Linked DNA regions of Homo sapiens: region 1 is linked to region 2. The links are contacts of gene promoters, found by promoter capture Hi-C in human tissues and cell types (Jung and others, 2019). All regions are on one chromosome and are shown on one strand. The core of a region is centred on a gene start or on the middle of the fragment in contact, and the rest is flanking DNA. Distances in the headings are between cores, read along the strand shown. Region 1 has its middle 27 kb from the start of ANXA4. Region 2 holds the start of SNRPG (small nuclear ribonucleoprotein polypeptide G).

Region 1 (6,161 bases), core at 2,518-5,017, 580 kb before region 2:
GACAACCATCTCAGTAATGATCCTAATTGGATCCAACTGGGGAACTCCAGAAAGTTTCAGTAACAAATTTGCAATGGTTCTGGGCCTTTTAATATGGATTCACAAAAGATAATGAGGTTATCCTGTCATTTCTACCCTATGGATGAGGAAAGTGACATTCAGACAGGCCATGGGATCTACCCACTCCCTCGTAAAGAACTGGAGGACCAACATTAGCAACAGGACCTCCCATTTGGCATTTTGTTTTCAGATGTGCCTAGAAGAAGGAGATTACAGCTTCTTGGACTGTTGAAGCCTGGGTTCTTCTTGAGTTGTGAAGATATCACCTAAATCCTATCCACATTTTGTGCACCAGGTTTGTGGACGCCTACCACCATTCATTCATTGCAGTGGCTCAGAGAAGATGAAAACAGGACTCTTTGGGGCCAATGAAGATCCCCAACAGAGCTCAGATGACCAGAGTGGACTGGCTTCTACCCTAAATACATACAACAATACTTCCCACTCTGACCTTGCTCACTTTATACAACACCACACAACTAGAGAGTGGCAGAGCTGCTGTGGGAACCCAAATGCCATCTGACTCCAAAGCCTTACTCTCAACCACCACCCTGCTGCCTCCTATTCTTTCCTGAAATCTTCAGTATAGTCATTATTATGAAGTAAAAAAAAAAAGAAAATGAAAGGATGGAAGGAAGGTAGAGGGAGCCCCTCTATCTCCATTCTTTGTTTCCATGAAGAACCTCTACTCCATTTTCAGGGGAGTGCTATTGGTGTAACACACTTTCTGGCCCTCTCCCTCCCATTCTTGTCACTCATTCTCCCCAAGGAAGAAGCGATATGTGGATGATAAGATTGGAAGAAGCCACTCTTATGTTCGGTGGTGTGCTGGTAAATGTTTAGCAGCTGGCTCTGGGGCAGAGAGAAAGCCCTGAATTGTAGTATGTGCCAATCTCCATGGTGTAAAAACACTTCTACCATAGCTGCTTCCAAGTATGTAAATTGTACACCTCAATAAAGCCAATTTAAAAAGTAAAGTCAATCAGTTTGTAAAACTCTTGAGACTTTAACATTCAGTCCAGCAAGCTGTTACCTGCCGGATCCAGCAACACACAACCCGTAACATAACGAGTTGGGTCTCAGCTCCCCGCTCTTCACAGACTCCAGAGTTCTCTCCCCTTTGTGGGGTTCCTCATCCATCCTTCCATTGCTTCTGCTGCTGCCCTGAAGGCATCACCGCTCTCCCGTCTCCTCTTGGGGCACCTAACTCTCTTAACAGTTTAGGACTTTGAGGAGTTTTGCCTTTCACAAAAAGAAAGAATGGGGGAAAAACGGTTATGCCTCAGCAGCTTTCGCTGTCTACCCTGCAGCACAAATTCCACTTGATGGAGGAACACAAAGGTCGGACTCCCTGCCGTGAAGAGGAGAAAGGGAAATTCGAATATGGAAGGAGCTCTACTCTCCCTTGCTCTGTCCTCCGCAAGAGAATGGGGCAGAACATTCTTTAGTCTACACCTCTGTCCCACATGAGTTGCCAAAGACCACAGTGCCTGGTGGGTGACATCTCTCCAGGCTTTTGAAGACATCTGAGCCTGGATTTTGAGCACATTCCTGACCTCCCTACTGGGAGGCTCTTCTCCTTCAAGGTCTGCCTTCTGACAAGCCCTAGCTCTTTCCCACCTCCAGTGGCTGGGTGGGCCGGGGGGTGGGGTAAGGGTGGAGATGTGGGCACATTCTGGGAGCCCCACCAGAACCCCATGGAGTGGAGAAGTGACCTTCTAAGGAGGGGAGCGTACAGTTTCCGGAAGGGAGGAAGGATGCGGTGAGGACCAAATGCATCCATGCAGGATTTCAAATATAAACGACTCTATAGAATACAAGCACCTACTCCTGGCAACCGAAGCCGAAGGAAGCCTAAGAATATAAGAGACGGGGCTTCGGCGAGGGCACGTGACCGAAAACTCACATAACACTCCACCTGCCCCAGTCCAGCCAGCCTGCTGTCCACAGTGTGCCCATCAGTGTATCAAACCTCAGTGCTTTATTTCCTGGGATCCTGGCCGAGCTCCCATTAACCTCCTGTGTTGTCCCCACAGCTCCTATACATGGGAGAGGGCCTGCGTTGGGCCAGATCCCAGAGCTGGGGCCTAATTTGTGATGGGATGCCCTGGGAGGCAAGCGTGCTTCAGCATGTACCCAATCAATAGCCAGACACCCAGGTCCGGAGGTGCCTGAGTCGGTCAGCAGGACGTTGGGCAGGTCTAGGTTCAGAACCTCTGCAGTTTTTCCCTTGGCTTCCCCGGGGCTTGTCCACAACGCCCCCTGCTGCCCATTCTTGGTTAACCTTGTGTCTTGTGGATACCTCATCAGATCTGTTCATGAAGCCTAACGCAAGGTCCTCCCTCCAGGGTGACACAGTGAAGTCAAGTAACAGATGTGGAGATGCTTTGGAGAGCTTGAAACAGAAGACTACATAATAACAATGGGCCAGTATCATAAAGCCAAGATTGAAGAAGACAGAACTGAATATCTCCCTCATCTGCAAAACTTGCCTTATCTTTCAGTATCATCCTGTTTCAGTGGACAGAAATCAATCCATCATATATTTGAGCCCTGCTCTTATAACCAAGTTAAATTTTGCCTAAAATAAGGCCCTGCCTCAAGCAAATCATGGTTTGTTTTTTATTTTATTTTATTTATTTATTTTTTGAAATGGAGTCTCGCTCTGTCACCCAGGCTGGAGTGCAGTGGTGCAATCTCCTCTCACCACAACCTCCCCCTCCTGGGTTCAAGCGATTCTCACCTCAGCCTCCCAAGTAGCTGGGATTACAGGTACGCACCACCATGCCTGGCTACTTTTTGTATTTTTAGTAGAGACGGGGTTTCACCATATTGGCCAGGCTGGTCTTGAACTCCTGGTCTCAAGTGATCCTCCCACCTCGGCCTCCCAAAGTGCTGGGATTACAGGCATAAGCCATCACGCCTGGCCAAATCATGGTTTAGAAAAGGGAGATGGTCAAATATAATTGTTATGACTGCCATAGTACCTACTATGTCCCAGATAATTTGCCTAGGTTTTTAACCCTCACAACACATCCCTAAAACATTGTACAGATGCAAATGCAGAGGCACGAAGAGGCTTAAAACATTCCCAAAGTCACATAGTTACTATAAAGCCAGTAACTGGCTCTATGTCTATCTGAGTCCAAAATGTGTTTTGTCCCCTTCTGTGCCTATGCACAGAGGGCAGTGGGAACATAAATGGAGGTGGAGGGAGGGGTAAGAAGGAGACATCAGTGGTCTACCCTCTTTATGTGATAACAGACTCCCTCTTTTATCTGGCAGCTGCTCCCTCAAGAGGAATACCCATTCTTTCTTCCTAGGTCAAGAAAGAGAGTCCAAGGCATGGTCAATCACAACACTGTCCCTCTAGTCATGGGCCAAGTGCTGGGCACACGTCACCAGCCAGGCTACTCTTAGCCTTTCCCATAATTTTAATAACCTGAGACTGGGAGAAAGAAGCCTCACTCTCTCCTGGAGTGATCAAACTGTATGTAAGTCTAGAGTTCTCTGTGAGTACAGTCTCCTCTAGCAAGAAAGGATGAGACCAACTCATAATAAGAAGCCAAAATACATGTACATATGAGTAAGAGAGAGAGAGAGAGCTGACAGCATTGTTTGGGTGTCTGGATCTAGCCATTCCTGTGGTGGCTCTGTCTAGTCCTTACTTAAATGAGTTAATACATCCCCTTTTAACTGAAGCTAGTTTGTGTTGGGTTTCTGTCCCTTAAAGTCAAGAGTCCTGAGAAATACAATACTGGTCAAAAAAAGTCTTCATAGAACAGGTGAACCAGGAAAAAAGGGATTCACCAGAAAGATAAGAGGAGAGGCAGAGGGTGAACGTAACAGCAGCTGCACTCGAGGAACTGCGAGCAGCTCAGGATGACTTGAGCTGAGATGTGCAGAGGGGGTTGGAGAGACGGGCGAGAGCCACATCAGGGAAGGCCTTGTTTGTCAGGTTAAAATGTTTGGTCTTTATGTGAGGGCGACAGGGAGCCCCCAAAGGGTTTCAAGCAGTGGTGTGACATGCTCAAGCTCGTTTTGAGAAGATCACTCGGGAGAACGGGTCTGAGAGACAGCACAACAGGAGGGCAGCGGATTAGTTATGAGGCTGCTCCGGGAATCCAGGTGAAGAGCTCAGGATGGAAAATGACTCGACGTTTTTGACTTGGTCATTGGCCAGAGGGGAGGGCAAGAACGAAAAGAGTTGTGTTTTGTTCATGTGCAGTTTGAAGTAAGTATCATACATTTAAATGGAATTGTCCAGTAGGTTTACTAAAAGAGATGACAGAGTTGGCGATGTTTAAGTTTTTCTGAGTCATCAATTCAGCTGTTTGCTGTCTGCCTACTACTGGCCAAGCACTGTGTGGAGGAGAACACCGTCCAGCCTCTGCTCCCTGGCATCACACTGTGGCAAGACAAAACAGATGATAACCAGAGAAACCAATCAAGAAACAAGGGAAGTGCAGGGGAGACCGTAAAGCAGCATCGTGTAGCAGAGGGGCTGGGGTGGGGGCTCCATCTCTTCAGTGGTCCTGGAAGGAGGAGCTGACGCCCTGAGGGTGCAGGAGGTGGCTGAAGATGAATATTCTCCAATTCATGCCCACTGAATAGGAACATGCCCATTTAAAAGCATCCATATGCATTTTGTTTGGCTTGTTGGTTTTCTTTGCCTGCCTATGCCTTCAAAGCTGGCATTGAGGTGGCAGGAGGCTTCTGTGCAGAAAACTGAGGCTGGTGCTGGAAAACTCCCACCATGGCCCCTTTGTTCTCATCCAGTGCCTTTCATCCCACACTCCCAAAGCCCATCCTGGCGCCCACCCTTTAATTGTCAGGCCTGGCTCATCGACACAAGCAGGTGGCATTTGATCATTATTCCTGCATCATAAATGAGGGTAACAAAGGCCTCCCTCTCCAGGGTATCAGCCAATATTATTTTGTGAGTTCAAGGGATCTGACTTTGAGTTGAAGCAGAAAGGCCTGATGTCCCATCCTTTTCATTTCTGGAATTACCCGTCGCTGCATCTTTCTGTTACCGCCATTTCCTCTTTAACTCCACGTATCTAACTGGAAACTTTGCTTTTCTTTGTTTCATCTTCTTTGGAATATGTTGTTCCCTGTGACCCCTCCCCACAAAGCCTTGCCTCTGCAGCAGATGCCCTGAGCCTTCCTGATGCCTGGGACTGGTACCTCATCCAGTTTGCTTGTTTCAGGCACTAACTAAACTAGAATGTGCCTGGATCCCTATGGGCCTTGGCTTTCTACCAGATGACAGGCAAACTAAGAGACGTACACAACCTATGCACTCCCTTCCCTCTAGAATGTTTCAGCAGGGGTCCTCTAAGTAAGAAAGCTGGAATTAAAAGGAATAGTTTTAATGGGGAAACCCTGGCTAGGGAGATGCTTGATACCCTAAGGCTGTATGTCTAGCTAGGTCAGGCATAGCTCAGTGCGGTCTGCATTTCATAGCAGATGTTTAGTTTGGAAAGTCCCCTGGCTACTTGGCTTCTAGAGCCCTCTCTCACCATGGGACTTCTCTGTGGGAGGACAGAACTCATCAATCACATTCTCCAAATGTCAAGTTCCTGCTGTGTAACCCCAGGAGAACCTTGCTTCCCATCTACATAACAGAAGTGAGGACCCCAGATTTGCTAGACAAAAGCTTGAACCTGTGGGGAAAGGTCCCCCCAGCTGGTCAGAATTCCCAAAGAAGGCTACCACTGGGAGATGGATTGCAATATAAATGGCACCCCCACCCTCTGGATGTTTGTCATTTCACCCTTCCTTCTTTACCTGACAATCTCTTAAGAGATTCTTGGGGGGATGTAATACACCAGCCAGGAACTAAATTATATTCAACTTTCTCAAGTAGATACTATTTCAGCTACGTTTGGGAAATGCTTAGCCAGAATTTGAGGTCACTGGAAGAGGTCATAGAATCACTCAGGTTCAGACTTGTGGAATTACTTACACTTTCCAGAACCTGTCATGACTTCTTTGGCTCCAGGGCTTTATACCTGCTGCTTCTTGTGCTTTGGGGTTTCCTTCTCTCCCACCAGCCCTATCCACAGCACACACATGCATACACAAACATGTACACA
Region 2 (6,143 bases), core at 3,226-5,725:
TATAAAGTTGCTCCAAACATTGCTAAGACACATGTAAAAAGCAATTAAATAATTAAAAAAAACCCCAAAACAACAACAAACTTACATGATAACTTCTTGTCCATAAATCTGAAAAAGGAAAAGGGTAAAGATTATATAACCAATTAAAAAAATTTAAGCATAAACAAGTAAATAGGTATAGTTAAGATAATTTGCTAAAATTTATACAATGGGAATAATGAAATCTAAAATAGTAAAAATAATGTATTGCTGTAAAGAGTGAGGGAGTAGGGCGAGGTAGCTCACGCCTGTAATCCCAGCACTTTAGGGGGCTGAGGCGGGTGGACTGCTTGAGCTCAGGAGTTGAGACCAGCCTGGGCAACATGGTGAAACCCCATCTCTACCAAAAATACAAAAATTAGCTGGGGGTGGTGGCACATGCCTATGGTTCCAGCTACTTGGGAGGCTGAGGTCGGAGAATCACTGGAGCCTGCCACGTTGAGGCTGCAGTGAGCCATGATTGCGCCACTGCACTCCAGCTTGGGCAATAGAGCGAAACTGTCTCAGGGGAAAAAAAGAGTGGGGGCGTAAAGGGTTACCTAAATTAGACATTCTAGGAAGCAAAGTAATTTGGGAAGAGGAAAGGCAATAAAAATGAAACATATTTAGACTATATTAATTTACATTAAGTAGAGTATACTAATGTGAATTACATTCTTATTGTTCAATACTACGTTGTTTCATTGACCTAAATTTCTTTCTTTTTTTTTTTTTTTTTAAGAGATGGGAGTCTCATTATGTTGCCCAGGCTGGTCCTGAATTCCTGGCCTCGAAAAATATACTCCCCCTCAGCCTCCCAAAGTGCCGCTGGGATTACACAGGCATGAGCTACCACATCTGGTCTCATTGACCTAATTTTCAATGACTGGATTTTATAGTCACAAGAGAAAAACAAAGACTTGCCTATGTTTGGTTATTTCCAAAACTAAGTTGTAAAGACAGCAAACAGTAATCAAATCATATCCAATTCAATAGGTATTTTATATTTGAAATAAGTAGTGTTCTTTTATTTAATATTAAAGCATCAAGCATAAATGTTCAGGGTAGTCCTCAACATTTAAGTATATTTTAGAATAATAAATGCACATTTGAAACTTCAAACGATATGAATTAAAAAAAAATTCCATTTTAGTGGAATACGAGATTAAGCCATGCAGTCAAATCAGTTTTTAATTTCTTCCATATAGGCCAGAAAACATAAAATTTCATTCAATTTTAAAAATTTCATTCAAATTTTAAAATATAAAAAAATGAAAAAAAGATGTTTAGTATATGGGCCACGAAGTGGGGCACTTATTCAATTTTAATGTATAGGATTATCATGGGAAAATGTAAATATAAAACAAGGAGCATGACTGAAGGAGGGAGTAGATACATTTACAAGTAAAAATATATTTATGGGCTGGGCGCGGTGGCTCATGCTTGTAATCCCAGCACTTTGGGAGGCCAAGGCGGGCGGATCACCTGAGGTCGGGAGTTCGAGACCAGCCTGATCAACATGGAGAAAACCCGTCTCTACTAAAAAAAAAAAAAAAAAAAAAAAAAAAAAAAAAAAAAATTAGTCGGGTGTGTTGGTGCATGCTTGTAATCCCAGCTACTCGGGAGGCTGAGGCAGGAGAATCGCTTGAACCCGGGAGGCACAGGTTGCGGTGAGCCAAGATCGCGCCACTGCACTCCAGCCTGGGCAATAAGAGTGAAACTCCATCTCAAAACACACACACACACACACACACACACACACACACACACACACACATATATGAAGTAAACTATATTTTAATAAGATACATAAAACGTATCAAATATAACACACAAGATCTTATACAATCTTTACAACGACTTTGCAATTATGGTCTATCATTTCCACCGTTTTTACAGATGGAGAACTAGGCTTGGAAAAGCTAAAGCAATTTTTCAAAGTCACACAGCAAGTGAGAGCAAACACAAATAGTTCAGTGTGACTGGAGAACGGAATACCTGAGTATTAGCAGCTAGAAGGTTTGGTGCTTGAATGCTGGGTTAAGTACAGACTCGATTTTGCATACTGTGATAAATTATTAAAGCAGTCACTGGCAAGACTACCGTGGCAGCAAATTTTAAGAAGTGGAAGGAAGAATTCAGTTAAGCCAGTGTATCTCAACTTCTATACTACTGACATTTGGGACCAGTTAATTTTGTATTGTTGGGGGCAGTCGAATAAGCAGTAGGATGTTTAGCAGCACCCTGGTGTCTACTCACTAGAAGCCGGTAGCACCAGATTCCCTACTCCCCATTTAAGAACACCTGAGTTATGCTACACCAGAAGGAGGGCATAATGGTGTAAAAGAAGATGCTATCTGTGAGAAAGCAGAGGAAGAAAAAATTTTTAAGTCATTTTGGCGGCAGATCTGACCGGATTTCACAATTCATGAAACCTACGAGGAAGAGAAAGGTATTAAAACTAGCTTCCTTCTCTGAAATTTTCAAAAACTATGTTATGAATCAGAAAGAAAATCTTAGATTACAAGTAGAGAATGGTCTTTTTGTTAAAAAAAAAAAAATCACCATTTCACCAGTCCCTGATGAATCCAGAGGATACTTACATCACCAAAAATAACTTTCAGATAAAAAGAGTAATTTTCACAATAATTTCTGAGTAACTTCTATTTTTTTTTTTTTTTTTGAGACGGAGTCTCGCTCTGTTGCCCAGGCTGGAGTGCAGTGGCGCGATCTCGGCTCACTGCAAGCTCCGCCTCCCGGGTTCACGCCATTCTCCTGCCTCAGCCTCCCGAGTAGCTGGGACTACAAGCGCCCGCCACCAAGCCCACGTAATTTTTTGTATTTTTATAGACACGGGGTTTCACCGTTTTAGCCATGATGATCTCCATCTCCTGACCTCGTGATCCGCCCGCCTCGGCCTCCCAAAGTGCTGGGATTACAGGCGTGAGCCACCGCGTTGGGCTTATGTTTTAATAATTAATTCCTTAACAGACCTAACTAAAATATACATAGAAGTAGTTTTCATACAAAAGATGGCTTTGATACAAATGGACCTTTAAATGCAAAAATATTATTATTTTTTGAAACAGAGTTTCGGTCTTGTTACCCAGGCTGGAGGGCAATGGCGCGATCTTGACTCACTGCAACCTCCGCTTCCCGGGTTCAAGCGATTCTCCTGCCTCAACCTCCGGAATAGCTGAGACTACAGGCGCACACCACCTGCCTGGCTAATTTTTTGTATTTTTAGTAGAGACGGGGGTTTCACCATGTTGGCCAGGCTGGTCTCGAACTCCTGACCTCAGGTGATCCTCCCGCCTCAGCCTCCCAAAGTGCTGGGATTACAGGCGTGAGCCACTGTGCCCGGCCGCAAAATTATTAAATAGGAACTTTACCTTTTGTCTGACTTCCATGGGCCTGGTAATAAATGAACTAACTATACACAAAGCCAACCACATGCTACGCCAGAAAAAACTGATCCCTGTAAAAATTTTGCATCCTTTGTGCAATCCAACTAATACATGTAGAATTCCAGCATCAGGAAGTATAAGCAAAACAGAAACGTAGTCAGGAAACACATAACCTGTTAAGTCCACTCAAAAAGTATTTGAGGAATTCAAAGCTTTACGTTGAGTCCTACCTAAAGTAAGGCTCTCCTACTTAAAGTTGTTTGACTTTACTGGGTGTGTAGAAAAAACTTCAAAAAATTAGCCTTCTCTGACTAGAAAAAATTAATGTTCTTAAAAAAAAAGAAAAATGAATGTTCTTATATAGTTTCAACATCAGAGCAAGATAACACATGACATTCAAGCTTAACGTAAAAGAAGGCAAGAAAAAGGAATGAGGTTTCTAAGTAAAAGCTCAAACACCTACAAACACATTTGCTAAGACTAAAGTGGCTTTCGGATTCTGATGCCTCACGTAGTTTTAAAAACACTTCCTTCCCTTCCAGCCCCTCCTTAGTTCCTTCAGAGAATTTCCCCCTCTAGCCGTCTATCTAGAACATGATACTATTCGAGATGTTCAACAAAAGGTAGCACTGGAGATCTTCAAGGAACGAGGGACAGCGCCGGGTGACCAGGGGCCAGACCGCGGGACCTGGAGACTAGTCGGCCGGAAGGAGGTGCCGTGGCTGCCGGCTGTAACCACACCGACGCGCGAGCTCTGCGCGGGCTTCACGTCTCATGCGCGGGAGCCTGGCCGGGATCCCGGCGACCTCGGACCGGAAGAAGAAATGAAGTGAAGCGGCTCAAGACATTCGGCTAACGGAGAGGGAACCAAGGGACTCGCAGGACGCAAATAACTGACCACTTCGGTTTGGCTCTCACACATACTTACTTTTTCAACTCGGGAGGGTGAGCTTTGCTCATGGTGTATACTCCGCGGGCTCACAGATGCCTTGGAACGCAACGCACGGCTTTCCTCACGCTCCCGCTGTAGGCCCGGCGTCTTGCGTCTGGCGTCATCGACCTCGTTAGCCAATGGATTGTTGGCAGTTTTTACATTTCACCTCGCGATATCTCAGCGCCTCGGTCATCGTTGAGCTTCCGGTTATGTCCTCAGCGATTGGCCAGGACGGAGGGGTGCGTCCTCTAGGCACCTTTCTGAATTCCGTTTTCCTTGTACAAAATTGAGATAACGGGTATTCCACCGGTGGGTATCCCTGCTCTTTTTCTTTTCTTTTTGAGACGGAGTCTAGCTCTGTCGCCCAGGCTGGAGTGCAGTGGCGCGATCTCGGCTCACTGCAAGCTCCGCCTCCCGGCCTCACGCCATTCTCCTGCCTCAGCCACCCGAATAGCTGGGACTACAGGCGCCCGCCACCATGCCCGGCTAATTTTGTGTATTTTTTAGTAGAGACGGGGTTTCGCCGTGTTAGCCAGGATGGTCTCGATCTCCTGACCTCGTTATCCGCCCGCCTCGGCCTCCCAAAGTGCTAGGATTACAGGCGTGAGCTACCGCGCCCAGCCGGTTATCCCTGCTCTTGTCTATGGAACAGCCAAAATAAATAAAAATAAATAAATAAATAAAAAAAGCCGGGCGCCGTAAATCCCAGAACTTTGGATCTCTTGAGCCCAGGAGTTCGAGACCAGCCTGTGCAACATAGCGAGACCCCTTCTCTATTTAAAAAATAAAATTGAGATATTGAGATAACGGTCCCGTCTCTAGCTCCTGGGCAAACCCGGCCAATCCCGCATGTCTGTGGATCGTATCGCTTATTTTCTTCATATATACCAATATACCAAATGATAATGATCCCTGGAGGAATGGGCCTCTCTCTATATATGTATATTTTTTTGAGACGGAGTCTTGCTCTGTCGCCCAGGCTGGAGTGCAGTGGCGCGATCTCGGCTCACTGCAAGCTCTGCCTCCCGGGTTCACGCCATTCTCCTGCCTCAGCCTCCCGAGTAGCTGGGACAACAGGTGCCCGCCACCACGCCGGGCTGATTTTTTGTATTTTTAGTAGACACCGTATTTCACTGTGTTAGCCAGGATGGTCTTGATCTCCTGACCTCGTGATCCGCTGGCCTCGGCCTCCCAAAGTGCTGGGATTACAGGCGTGAGCCCCCGCTCCCGGCTGGGCCTCTATATTTTTTTGGCAGGTAACCCTACAGCATACTGTCAGACCAAGTAGGGTTCCCGTAACATGTAAATTAGCAGCCTCTGAACCATTGTAGAGTAAGGTGACTGGGTCTGTCTCCAAGAATTTGAATCTATTTCTGACTGAGGGGTCTTGCAAAAAAAATTTTTTTTGAGATGAGTTCTTGCTCTGTCGCCTAGGCTGGGGAGCATGGTGTGATCATGGCTCACTGCAACCTCGAACTCCTGGCCTCAAGCAATCCTTCCACCTCAGCCTCCTGAGTTGTTGAGACTACAGGCGCACGCCACTGCACCCAGCTAATTTTTTTTTGTAGAGACGAGGTCTTGCTTTGTTGCCCAGGCTGTTCTCAAATTCCTGGCCTCAAGAGATCTGCCTGCCTCCGGCTCCCAAAGTGCTGAGATTACAGGGGTTAGCCAGCATGCCTGGGAATTCTGAAATTTTTCAAACACTACCTCCAGAACTCACTGATGTGCTATTGCCCCTGTATATAAAATGTGAAGTGCAGCACACAAACATTTTCTAATATAAG

What was found. Contacts are between HindIII fragments. The study calls those that stand out against the background at their distance.
Region 1: a contact is called between a fragment that was not itself captured here and the fragment with the promoter of SNRPG in region 2, in 1 of the 25 tissues and cell types used here (spleen).

The regions. Positions count from the first base shown.
Region 1 is chr2:69,712,519-69,718,679 of GRCh38, forward strand. It overlaps a transcript of ANXA4 not described here. Among named protein-coding and RNA genes, the nearest start is that of ANXA4, 27 kb to the right of the region's middle. The HindIII fragment of the contact is 4,609 bases long and covers 1,464-6,072 here.
Region 2 is chr2:70,289,265-70,295,407 of GRCh38, forward strand. SNRPG (small nuclear ribonucleoprotein polypeptide G) reads right to left here and starts at 4,476. Exons shown (of 4, transcript NM_003096.4): 1 at 4,354-4,476; 2 at 86-108. The coding sequence starts at 4,385. It overlaps LOC124906023 (a long non-coding RNA gene), which reads left to right and starts at 4,638. Exons shown (of 2, transcript XR_007086880.1): 1 at 4,638-4,668; 2 at 5,794-6,143. RefSeq lists enhancers at 3,234-4,141, 4,158-4,637. The HindIII fragment of the contact is 9,687 bases long and covers 1-6,143 here.